Regions from separate parts of the Homo sapiens genome. Here regions 1 and 2 are each linked to region 3. Evidence: promoter capture Hi-C in 16 types of primary human blood cells and fetal thymus (Javierre and others, 2016). All regions are on one chromosome and are shown on one strand. The core of a region is centred on a gene start or on the middle of the fragment in contact, and the rest is flanking DNA. Distances in the headings are between cores, read along the strand shown. Region 1 has its middle 21 kb from the start of S1PR1. Region 2 has its middle 11 kb from the start of LINC01307. Region 3 holds the start of SASS6 (SAS-6 centriolar assembly protein).

Region 1 (3,982 bases), core at 1,141-3,640, 1.1 Mb before region 3:
CCATTCTTCCCTTCAAAGTGATAGCTTTTAGACCAGTCATCATAAACTAAGTTTTGAATTTCATGTTCAAGGTTATTATAGGATAATTCAATTTACATAAAATCTTTACTCAAAAACCTACATTTCTGTTCATAATGATTTTCTTTTGTGGAATGGTCTTTAGGGCCAATGAAACCTAGATTCAAGTCCCTGTTCTGCCAATTACTAGTTCTGTATCCTTGAACACAGTTTTTAAAAACTTCCTTGAGCCTCGGTTTCTTGCTACACACAATGGTGATTCTAAGGATTAAATGAAAGAGGCAATATAAAAGGACCTTTCTCATCACTAGTATATAACAGGTGTTCAATAAATTACAGCAATGATTATCATCATAGTAAAGAATCAATATTCACATATATAATAAATGGATGAAAGAGAAAATCCTGGAAAAAGAGCTAAAGCCACAGGGGACTGTAAATGTACATATACGAACAAAGAGGAGGTGATGATGTATGTTTTCGTGTGTATGCGTATGCCTGTATGTGTGTCCAGTGTGGGAGCAAACTGCAAGTGCAGGATAAAGAAAGAGAGAGAGAGATCTGACAGCAAAGATGGAGAAGAGGATAAGGAAAAATAAGAGGAAGGGAGAACCTTTTAGAGAAAGCGAAGGGCACATTGGGATCAAGAGGAAAGGTTTGACTTAAAGGTCTGCAACCACTGTCAATTCCAAATCAACAGACAGACAGACAAGTTCCAGGGCCGCCAACACCTGGGTGCAGTCCAGTCACCTGGATAGTCAGAGAACCATAAAGCTAATAAACAATGAGTTCCTTAAGGCACCAGCCATGCTTCTGTAACAAGTAAAATTTTGAATATTAAAATGCATTTTTTTTGCCTCCTTGAGTAGAAACCTTCACATTAGTCTGCCCTAGCCAATGACTTGCCCAGATGGAGAGTCTGAATTTATTATAGAAGAAGAACAAGAGAATGAGTAACATTCTGCTTCTGTCTTTCAGAAAGTAGGTTTATACAAGCCTCTTGAAAAGGGATTTGCTGAACTCCCTTGTGAGGCATTAGTATTTTAACAACCAAGCATGGAGATTTCAGATCAATGTGGTTTAAAAACAAAAATAAAAAGAAGGTAACCTGCTTGTCATTAAGATTAAGCTAGGAAGAGTCAGGAAGAAGATAGAATAGAAAGAAAGAAAGAAAGAAAGAAAAAGAAAGAAAGAAAGAAAGAAAGAAAGAAAGAAAGAAAGAAAGAAAGAAAGAAAGAAAGAAAGACAGACAGACTAGCCCTTTGTTAGTGTGGAGAACTGTGGAAAGCAGAGAGAGAGGGAAATGAACTGGTGAAGGTTGTCCTAATCTCCCCTCCCCCAGCTCTTCTGAGTTTGGCCCAGGTAGGGAAAGGGGCACAAGGGAAGCAAAGTTAACTCCAAAGGCAGAGTGGGGGCCACTATTAAAAAGACTCCTCATGAACTCAAAAGAGGGGGCTCTGTGTGTGGCATGCTCCCATACAAACCTAGGGACCAAGCCCACCCCTAGGTAGGTCAGACATGGTCAGTCAGAGCGAGGTAGAGAGGACTCAGAAAGAGCAAGCCTCTCTGCTTATCAGAGGCAGGTAAAGCCAGGGCTGGATGAAAGGCCAACCAAACTTCAAAGGGATCTCTAGCACCAGGGGAAACTGAAATGAGGGCAGGTCAGCCAGAGCACACAACAGGACTTTAACCAGACCCAGTGAGACCAACCACAGGTCACACCCACTCAAGCAATCACCCCAGGGCAAGCAGTACCAAATGAGAAGGAGATAATTGGCTGGAGGAGAGCCAAGGCAAGCAGGGAACTGTGGCTGAGGACACCACCTCCTCCCCACCAACATGAGGTTGCATAGACCTCAGCCCTTCCCCAGGACTCTAGGCAAGCAGAAGAGGAAGAGCCTGAGAGCCTCAGTAATTTTTTTTTTTTTTTTCAGACAGAGTTTCACTTTGCCACCCAGGTTGGAGTGCAGTGGTACAATCTAGGTTCACTGCAACCTCGACCTCCCGGATTCAAGCTATCCTCCTGCCTCAGTCCCCACAAGTAGCTGGGACTACAAGTTCACACCACCACTCCCAGCTCATTTTTGTGTTTTTTGTAGTGATGGAGTTTTGCCATGCTGCCCAGGCTGGTCTCCAATTCCTGAGCTCAAGCCATCTGCCCATCTTGGCCTCCCAGAGTGCTGGGATTTCAGGCATGAGCCACCATGCCTGGCCTAGCCTCAGCTTTTTTTTGTTTTTGTATTGTTTGGTTTTAGCCTCACCATTTTTATCCAAAGGAGGCAGAACAAGCATTCAAATGGATTAAATTACTGACTGGGACTACATTTTAAACCAGTCATTTAGTTAACGTTATTCCCCCTTCTAACTAGAACGTAAATGTCTGTGAGGGAAGACGGAATAGGATAGACTAAATAAATTCATTTTTCTGCACATCCAAGTTGCAATGTAGGTCAAATTTTGCAATTTCATCATACATTCTTTTTTTGATCTCATGCAAAAAGAGAATCTGAGCACAAAACATAGTTGTTGACTAGCAGAACTTCCAACGGAATGAATTCTTTGAAAAAGCAGGAATATTCATCTAATGCGGCCTGGCTTTAGTGGGGAGGGTCAGTGTAAAGTAGGAAAAAGAAGAGAGGGAACTGATCGTGGCAAGGGTTTTGTCTATTTTGCTCACTGCTCTAATGGCAGTACATGGAGCATAGTAGATGCTTCATAAATATGCGTTAAATGAATGAGTAAATGAACATTTGTTGACTATCATCTATCTTGGGCCAGACATTAAAAAATATAATTCTATTTATTTATTTATTTATTGAGACAGAGTCTCACTCTGTCACCCAGGCTGGAGTGCAGTGGTGCGATCTCAGCAAACTGCAACCTCCACCTCCCAGGTTCAAGCAATTCTCCTGCCTCAGCCTCCCAAGTAGCTGGGACTACAGGCGCATGCCACCATACCCGGCTAATTTTTTGGTTTTTTTTTAGTAGAGATGGGGTTTCACCGTGTTAGCCAGGATGGTCTCGATCTCCTGACCTCATGAGTCGCCTGCCTAGGCCTCCCAAAGTGCTGGGATTACAGGCATGAGCCACTGCACCTGGCCAAATATAATCCTATTTAAATCACACAACAGTCTTTGAAGTTAGTTATTATCATTATTTTATTTTTTTAACAACTTGTAATCAATTTATTAAAATGGCTTACTTAAGCATCTGCAATGGTGCCTTCCACCTCAACTCCTGGCTCAATACTGATGGAAGTAACCTGCTTAACAATCTCAGAAGGACTGTGCCAGTCAATAAGTCGCTTGTGGATTCTCATCCCGAAACAATCCCATGTCTTAGAACATTCACAAGGGGTTTTTCTTGTAGTGATTCTCAAAGTCTTGGTAGGCATTCGAACTGGTCCTTTCACTTTGAGATTCTTTTCCTTTGCTCCTCTGATCAAGTCAGCACACACCTTCTCCAGGGATTTTACTTTGCGGCTTGTTACAGTGATTCGAATTCGGTGAATTGCCACCTCTGGCTCCACGAGTGTGTTTCCGGAATTCTTTTTTTTTTTTTTTTTTTTTTTTTGAGATGGAGTCTCGCTCTGTCCCCCAGGCTGGAATGCAGTGGCGTGATCTCGGCTCACTGCGAGCTCCGCCCCCCGGGTTCACGCCATTCTCCTGCCTCAGCCTCCTGCGTAGCTGGGACTACAAGAACCTGCCACACCATGCCCGGCTAATTTTTTTTTTTTTTTTTTTTTTTTTTTTTTTTTTTTTTTTAGTAGAGACGGGGTTTCACCGTGTTAGCCAGGATGGTCTCGATCTCCTGACCTTGTGATCCGTCCACCTCGGCCTCCCAAAGTGCCCGGTATTCTTAAAAGCCATGGCTGCTGCGCGGCTTCCTGACCAACTGTTCCTCACAAGAGCGAACAGTGGTGAGTCAGGAGCAGGAGCTGGCAGATCAGCGATTCTTTTTTTTT
Region 2 (3,748 bases), core at 541-3,040, 1.2 Mb before region 3:
GTAAAGCCCCAGCAGTGAGTCATCACCACCCAGGGACTGAGTCAGTGTCAGAGCAGCTCCTGGCTTGAACCACTCTGGGTCATGCTAAAGGAGGGTCAAGCTTGGCTCCTTTAATAGCTGAGGAAACCAAGGTCATAATCATAACTTTACAAGCAATGGAATCCTTTCGCTGAATGAGTATTCACTCTCCGCAAACACTGTTCTAGGTGCTGTAGACTCAAACACTGAGAAGCATCCCTTCCTCTGAAGATGACTCCTGTATTGCAGGTGAAAGAATAGGTCAATTACAGGTTAAAAGATGGCGTGATAGTAGATGTTGCTTGTGTAGTATGGTAGAATCATCTAAATCATATAGGAAGCAAAAGAAGACTTCTCTTAAGCCGAAATCCTGCTGGGTTTTGAAAGACAAGTTGTTGAAATAACACATAAACAGGTATAAACATAAACCATGATATGTTCAAGGGGAATACTGGTGGTTCACTCTAGGTGGAACATGTGGTAAAAGTGGACAGCTAGAGATTCAATCTTGAAAAATGATAACAGCTAACAGCCTATGATGTGTCAAATTCTGTTCTAAGTGTTTTAGGTATATCAACTCATTTAATTCTCTTGACTACCTTAAGAGTAAATAGCACCATTTTATAGGTAAGGAAACTGAGTCCCAAGAGCAAGTTCACACAGCTAGTATATGACAGAACTCGGAGACAAAGAGCCACGACTGGTGAAGACAATAAAATCGCGGTATACGTTGCTTGGGCGTTCTACCAGGCTAGTCCCTGCCTAGCACATTTCTTCCACATGCTGCTGTCCACCATACAGGCGGCTTTTATGAAATGGGGGAAAAAAGCCATCAGTTGTCATAGAAACAATAGCAATTTGTGCCACCTGTGTGCAAGCAGATAGGAGAGGCTTGCTGCTGCTGTTTGGCTATTGTCCAAGGACCCAGATTGAGAAACATCAACTGGCTTAAAAGGGAGCCCCTGAATTTGAATGTAGGCAGTCTGAACCTAGGATCTGTGCTCTTAGCCACTACACAAAACTGTATCATACTACAATCTGGTAAAGGATGATTATAACTTGGAATTTGAACTTTCTTTGAAAGGGAATGAGGAACCTTTGAAGGGTTTTAAACTGAATGGTGCTAGGGACAAATTGGTGTTCTGAATCTTTTCTAAAGAAAGTGTCTCTAAGCAAGGTGCAGTGGCTCACACCTGTAATCCCAACATTTTGGAAGGCCAAGGTAAGAGGATCACTTGAGCCCTTGAAGTTCAAGACCAGTCTGGGCAAAATAGAGAAACCCTGTCTCTCCAAAAAAATAAAAAATTAGCTGGGCATGTTGGCACATACCTGTAGTCCTAGCTAATTGGGCGATTGAGGTGGGAAGATCTCTTGAGCCCAGGAGTTTGAGGTTGCAGCGAGCTATGATCTCACCACTGCACTCCAGCCTGAGCAACAGAGCAAGACCCTGTCTCAAGGAAGTCTCTCTGAAGGTGTGTGAAAGTCAGAAGGGGTGAGACTGAAGTGATGAGCCAAACTAGGACAGCTGGGACCTGAAGGCACGCAGACCTGTTTGGGTGAAGTCAGTACTAGGAAGAAGTCCCTGGGAGTACTGACATCATGAAGTCCAGTTGCATCCAACAGGGTAGACGGGCAGCTGGAGCACTGCCTCAGAGAGCCAAGTAATTGTATCAGAAGAACCCAGAAATAGACACCCAGCACAGCGTCCAGCATTTAGGAGCAAGACTCTGGTCCCAGGATAACTGGGCACAAGGAAGGCGAGAGAAGGTGATCAAAAAATGCCAGAAGGTGAGGGCAGGTGCTGTGGCTCATGCCTGTAATCCCAGCATTTTGGGAGGCTAAGGCAGGAGGATCCCTTGAGCCCAGGAGTTTGAAGCTACAGTGAGCCATGATCCCTGTACAGGGAAAGGGTTCAGGAGCTCAGGCCCTGTAGGTAACAAGACTAGGACTCAGTTACCAGAACAGCAGTATAAGCAGAGCTTAGACACAAAGAATCGGGCAAGAACCTAGTTCCTAGAACCTACTCTTAGAGTTACTACAAAGTGAAAGGGAAACCATCACAGGCGAACTCCATGAAGTAACATCAAAGCTCCCAGCTTAAAGATCCCACTGTCCTAATGTTCTGGACAAGAATTTCAGGTCAGGCTGAAAAATTGGTTCAGGAGGAGGCTCAGGGGCCTTGCCCAGGCTGCTGGAGGAAGCAGCCAAGTAGCGTGTCCCTGAATTTCTGGCCCAGTCCTAGCCCTAAGCCAACCCAACCCCCCGAACCCAGAAGTTTTCACCACAGGGCATGGGACACTAGAAACACAATGACTTAAATAGATGCTAAAAGGAATCTGGGTGAAACCACTGGAAACATTCAAATGACCGAGCCCAAGAATCTTGTATTTAATCAGGGTTCTCCAGAGGAATAGAACCAATAGGATATATACAAGGGCAGGGAAAGACCAACGTCCTTGCTCAAGCAACCAGGCAGGAAGCAAAAGGTGGCAAACTCCTTCCCCTACCTTTGTTCTACTCAGGTACTGAACAGATTATTGGATGATTCCCACCTACATTGGTAAGTATGGACCTTCTTTACTTGGTCTTCTGATTCAAATGGTAATTGCACCCTCATTGACTGTTGCAGAAATAAATTACAAATACATATAGGAAAAAGGACTTCAAAAGGCTGCGGTATCAAAGTGGCAGTTAAAGAGAAGGCAATACTCAGAGTTGCAGGTGGAGCAGCGGAAACTATGTTTATCAGCTTTACCCAGCCATCCCTCAGCCCAGTCAAGTTGACACATACAATTAACCATCTCAGAACTTGTGACCAACAAATGGATTTTGGATGCTGTCATGCCAAGTAGGCTTTCTTATCCCTAGTCTTTCAAGCGAAGTTTCATCTGGCTTTTCTCAGTAGGACCATCAAGTCCACAGAAGCCACGTCTTCCCCACTTTGACATGAGCAAGGAGATCCCAGGCATATAGCCTATAAAGGGGGTCAGACAGGGAAAGAAGCTGGAAGTGGACCAGCCAGAGTATCCCACTGGGATTTTGACAGCTGGAAGGCATGACAGAGATCTACTGTGAGCTGCACAGTGCAAGCCATCTGGATCTTGAGCAAGCAGCACAATCTTCTGACTCCCAAGAGGAGTCTAACCTCTGGGTGGTTAGTGAGGGGGAAGGTCCCTACCCAGAAAAGGTGTTGAAAAGGTGTTGCCATGTGAGAAGGATCAAGATGCAAAAGGAAGTTGGCACAGTGGAAAGAGCACAAGCCTTGGGATTGTTTATTTATTTAGGAAATATTTCTTGAGCTCCTAATACGTGTCACACTCTTCTGGGGATGCAGCAGCAAGCATTGACTTCTTGGCATGAAGTGGAAGGGAAATACCTTTACCTTCAATTTGTGGAAATGAAAACAAAATGAGGGTAGGAAGACATGGTTCCCTGTTATCCAGAAACTGACAGAGAAGCTTCAGAATTTTAGACCATTGTGAGGGAGGGCAAAAACCATAAAACAAATAAACTATACAACAACAAAAAAACTAGATTGTATCACAGTGACAAATCAAGAACAGCTGTGGAGTATCCCTTGCATTTTCTCTATTTTCTTTCTTATTATTCTAAAGTCAAGATAACAACTCTGCAGTTACAAACCATCATTTAAATGTGTATACACTACACACTGGAGACAACCTGGCCCTGAGGAGCAAAACATCATGTGTGTTCATTGCCTTGAATCTGT
Region 3 (4,009 bases), core at 78-2,577:
ATATACATATATACAAATATAAAGTGTTTGATAGTACATTTATATGCATAATTATCAAACAAAATTGTATGCTTTGTTCTCAATTGTAAAAGGTCAATTCGTATATATTTAAAAATCTTTCCTTCCCATTCCAGCAAAGTTGCATTCTTAAAAACTGTAAGTCGAAAAAAATTTTTTTTTCTTTTTTGAGATTCAGTCTGGCTGTCACCCAGGCTGGAATGCAGTGGTGTGATCTTGGATTATTGCCACCTCCACCTCCTGGGTTCAAGCGATTCTCCTGCCTCAGCCTCCCGAGTAGCTGGGGTTACAGGCTCGCACCACCACGATTTTCTTAATTTTAGTAGCTCGCGCCACGGCTGATTTTCTTATTTTTAGTAGAGAGAGGGTTTCATCATGTTGGCCAGGCTGGTCTCGAGCTCCTGACCTCAAGTGATCCGCCCGCCTCGGCCTCCCAAAGTGCTGGGATTACAGGCGTGAGCCACCGCGCCGGGCCTCAAGTCTAAATTTTTAAAAGAAAGTTTCTTCCAACCGCATTCACGAGAAGTGCTTCTCTTTCATGAAATAACAATTAGAACACAACTAGTGAAACCTTTGGGACTTCAATCACTACTTTTTCTAAACTACCACTTTCCAGCAGGAAGACGGAGCGGTAGCTTGGGGTAAAAATTAAAACCTAGCATTACCATGAGTTAAGATCGAGATAAATAGATCAAAATAAATGGGTCACTGCTGGCGCTTTACTTAGAAAAATAAAAAATTTCTCATCACTAGAACTCATAATCGCTCCGCAAGGAGGGCAAAACTGGGTTTATTAAAGTGAAAGCTGGAGAATCCAGGGGACACAAGCAGAAAGCTGTCAAAGAGGGGAGGGGCCGGGTTCCAGCACCGACAGGACCAGGATACTTATTTCCGACTCTTGAGAGAGTAGGGCGATACCACACCTCCGCGGCTCCAGCGTGTTCACCACAAAATCTTTTCCCTGCGGCCACCACCATCCTGCAGAACCGTTTCTTCTTTTCCACATAGTAACCGCATCTACCCTCAGCTGGAAAACCAGGCGCGTGCGGCGACGTCGCGGAGGTCGCCATAATTCTAGGGCTCGCTTCCGGTGTCCAGCATCCGGCAACCAGAAGAAAAGTTAGAAGCTTCCTTCGGGTCTCCTTCCCTTAACAAACATGGCTGCCTCAGCCCCCGCGCCACACAGGTTAATACCCGGAACTACCACAACCGTCTTCCCTTTATCCTCCGCAGAACCGGAAGAATCCGATGGTGGCTGGCGAGGGCCAAGTCTCTTACGCCTTCCCCTCGTTTCTCCCTCCCCGCCTCCTCCGCAGAAGCCGAGCGCCAAACTCAAACTTTATCAGGACCCGGACCTCTCAGGCTAATCCCGAGGGCCGGGCCTGTTGGGCTTTTCTGCACACCAGCCGAGGCAGCGAGCCAACATGAGCCAAGTGCTGTTCCACCAACTAGTCCCGTTGCAGGTGAAATGCAAAGACTGTGAGGAGAGGTAAGGTCCGCGTCATCCAGTGCCCGCGGGTGGCGGTTGGGGTCAGGCCAATGGGGAAAGATGGCGGTTCTGGCCCGTGGGATCCACCTTGCACCTAGGTGTCGAGTCGGCCCCCCTAGGAAGCGGATAGGGAACCCAGAGGGCCCGGTGGTTACCTCTCTCACCAAGTCGGCCGTTGCAGAGGGGACTGGAGGAAGGGTGTGAGGAGTTAGGAAGCCGGCTCACATCAAGTTAATGTCAAAAACCCTACCTGTGCACGGAATCGTGAAGATTATAGCCCTACTCTTCCCTTTTGACAGATAAGAACTCTGGCCCAGAGAAGTTAAAAAAATTTACGTGAGGGCTCACAGCCAGTTCATGGCAGGGTCAGGACTAGAACTCAGGCCTTGGCTCCGAGCCTTTCCCCCTCGTTCTCTTTTGAAGTATGTTGGCAGTAAAGTTCAACTTTTAAAAACCTACCAATTTGGTGGCGTACTTTGGCTCTTCACATCAGTTGCTTTAAAAAAGTAAATTACATTTAACCGACTAAAAATGAGAAAAGCAGAAACGTCATTAATTCATTCAATAAATATTGCCTCCTTGTAAAACACCTTACTGGGCACTGGGAATACAGTGGTCAGGAAAAACAGTCCTTTTCTTCATGGAGTTTACAATCACTGGAGGAAATAAAGACCAGTCGCACAGAGAAGTGCAACTTTGATTAAGGAGGTGGTATTATTGGGGCGTAAATAGATTTGACCAGAGGTCAGGAGACTTACTTTTTTTTTCTCAGTTCTAACACTCAATGGTTGTCTCTTTTTTTCTCTGAACGTTCTTTCCTCATTTGTAAAACTGATATAACATGCGTATTCACGTGTTTGTAATGAGGATCAGGTGTGAAATCTTTTGCGTATTCACGTGTTTGTAATGAGGATCAGGTGTGAAATCGTATGTGAAAACTAAGTGGTGTACAAATGTAACATAAAAAATGAAGACATTGCCTTATTGAGTTGCCAGTAATGTCAAACTGTAGTATATATAGTTCAGAATTCGGTCAAAAATCAATGGCAAGCCGGTCAAGGAGATGGTCCCAAAACCAGCAGCTGCATATGGAGATCTGTAGGTTTAGTTGATCATTCTTTTAATGCTGTCCAGTATGGTAGCCACTAGCCACATGTGGTTATTAGACATTTGAAATGGGGCTTATCTGAATTGTTGTGCTTTACATATGAAAATGCACGTTGGATTTTTAAGACTTACTATGAAAAAAGAATGTAAAATATGTCAATTTTTATATTATGTGTTAAATGGCAATATTTTTGGGTATATTGGGTTAAATACAATGTATTATTAAAATTAATTTCACCTGCTTTTAAAAGTCTTTTTAAAATGTGACTTCTAGAAAATTTAAAAGTAGGCTAGGTATGGTGGCTCACACCCGTAGTCCCAGCACTTTAGGAGGCCAAGACAGGAGGATTGCTTGAGCCTAAGCTTGAGGTTACAGTGAGCTACTATTTGTGCCACTGTACTCCAGCCTGGGTGATAGAGCGAGATCCTGTCTCTGAAAAAAAAAAAAGAAAAAGAAAAAAATTAAAATTACATACCTGGCTCACATTTGTGGCTTACATTGTATCTCCATTGGACAACACTGTTTTAGAATGATTATAGAAAGATAAAGGAGGCCATGACTTTGGTTTCAATATGGAAACTCCTAGATGGTCTCTTTCTGGTTACATTGCCATCACAGTTAATCTAAAAACTCAATTTCTCTGCTTAGAAACCTTTAATATATTCCTATTATCTGTATAATAGGGGTCAGCAAACTGGAGCACATGGGCCAGTTGGCTCACTGTTTTCGTAAATAAACTTTTCTTGGAATACAGCCATGCTCATTTGTTTACATATTGTAGCTGCTTTTGCACAGGAAGGGCAGAGATGAGTAATTGTGACAGAGACCTTATGGCCCGCAAAGCCTAAAATATTTGCTATCTGGCCCTTTACAGAATAATTTGGTGATCCTTGACCTATAGGAAGAACAACCCAGACTCTCTCTCTTTCTCTCTCTCTTTTTTTTTTTTTTTCTAGACAGAGTCTCGCTCTGTTGCCCAGACTGGAGTATTGTAGCACGATTACAGCTCACTGCAGCCTTGACCTCCTGGGCCCAAGGGTTCCCCTCACCTTAGCCTCCTGAGTAGCTGCAATTACAGGCGCATACCACCACGCCTGGCTTTTTTTTGTTGTTAATTTAATTTAAAAGAGACGGGGTCTCCCTGTATTGCCCAGGCTGGTCTTGAACACCTGGGCTCAAGTGATCCTCTCACCCCAGCCTCCCAAAATTCGGGGATTATAGGCGTGAGCCACCACGCCCAGCCCAGACGCCTTGGTTGAGTATTTGAGGCCAGTTCAGCTCAACAAATACTGGCAAATGTCTGCTGTGTCTCAGGAACTGTCCTAAGTGTGGAGGATGTAAATACGCACCCCCCTCTCCGTCCCCAACAACAACAAAAGCCAACAAAAACCTCT

What was found. Contacts are between HindIII fragments. The CHiCAGO score rates a contact against its expected background, and 5 or more counts as called.
Region 1: a contact is called between a fragment that was not itself captured here and the fragment with the promoter of SASS6 in region 3, in 2 of 17 cell types (erythroblasts and fetal thymus). The highest score is 6.0, in erythroblasts.
Region 2: a contact is called between a fragment that was not itself captured here and the fragment with the promoter of SASS6 in region 3, in 4 of 17 cell types (fetal thymus, naive CD4 T cells, activated CD4 T cells and 1 more). The highest score is 12.7, in fetal thymus.

Annotation. Positions count from the first base shown.
Region 1 is chr1:101,255,862-101,259,843 of GRCh38, reverse strand. It overlaps the pseudogene RPS20P6. Among named protein-coding and RNA genes, the nearest start is that of S1PR1, 21 kb to the right of the region's middle. RefSeq lists an enhancer at 1-485. The HindIII fragment of the contact is 6,994 bases long and covers 1-3,982 here.
Region 2 is chr1:101,310,705-101,314,452 of GRCh38, reverse strand. No RefSeq gene overlaps it. Among named protein-coding and RNA genes, the nearest start is that of LINC01307, 11 kb to the left of the region's middle. RefSeq lists an enhancer at 2,096-2,175. The HindIII fragment of the contact is 3,376 bases long and covers 103-3,478 here.
Region 3 is chr1:100,130,248-100,134,256 of GRCh38, reverse strand. SASS6 (SAS-6 centriolar assembly protein) reads left to right here and starts at 1,327. Exons shown (of 17, transcript NM_194292.3): 1 at 1,327-1,507. The coding sequence starts at 1,443. TRMT13 (tRNA methyltransferase 13) reads right to left here and starts at 1,094. Exons shown (of 11, transcript NM_019083.3): 1 at 942-1,094. The coding sequence starts at 1,088. RefSeq lists enhancers at 880-1,409, 1,420-1,539, 944-1,546, 3,320-3,369 and a silencer at 1,542-1,705. The HindIII fragment of the contact is 1,832 bases long and covers 1,148-2,979 here.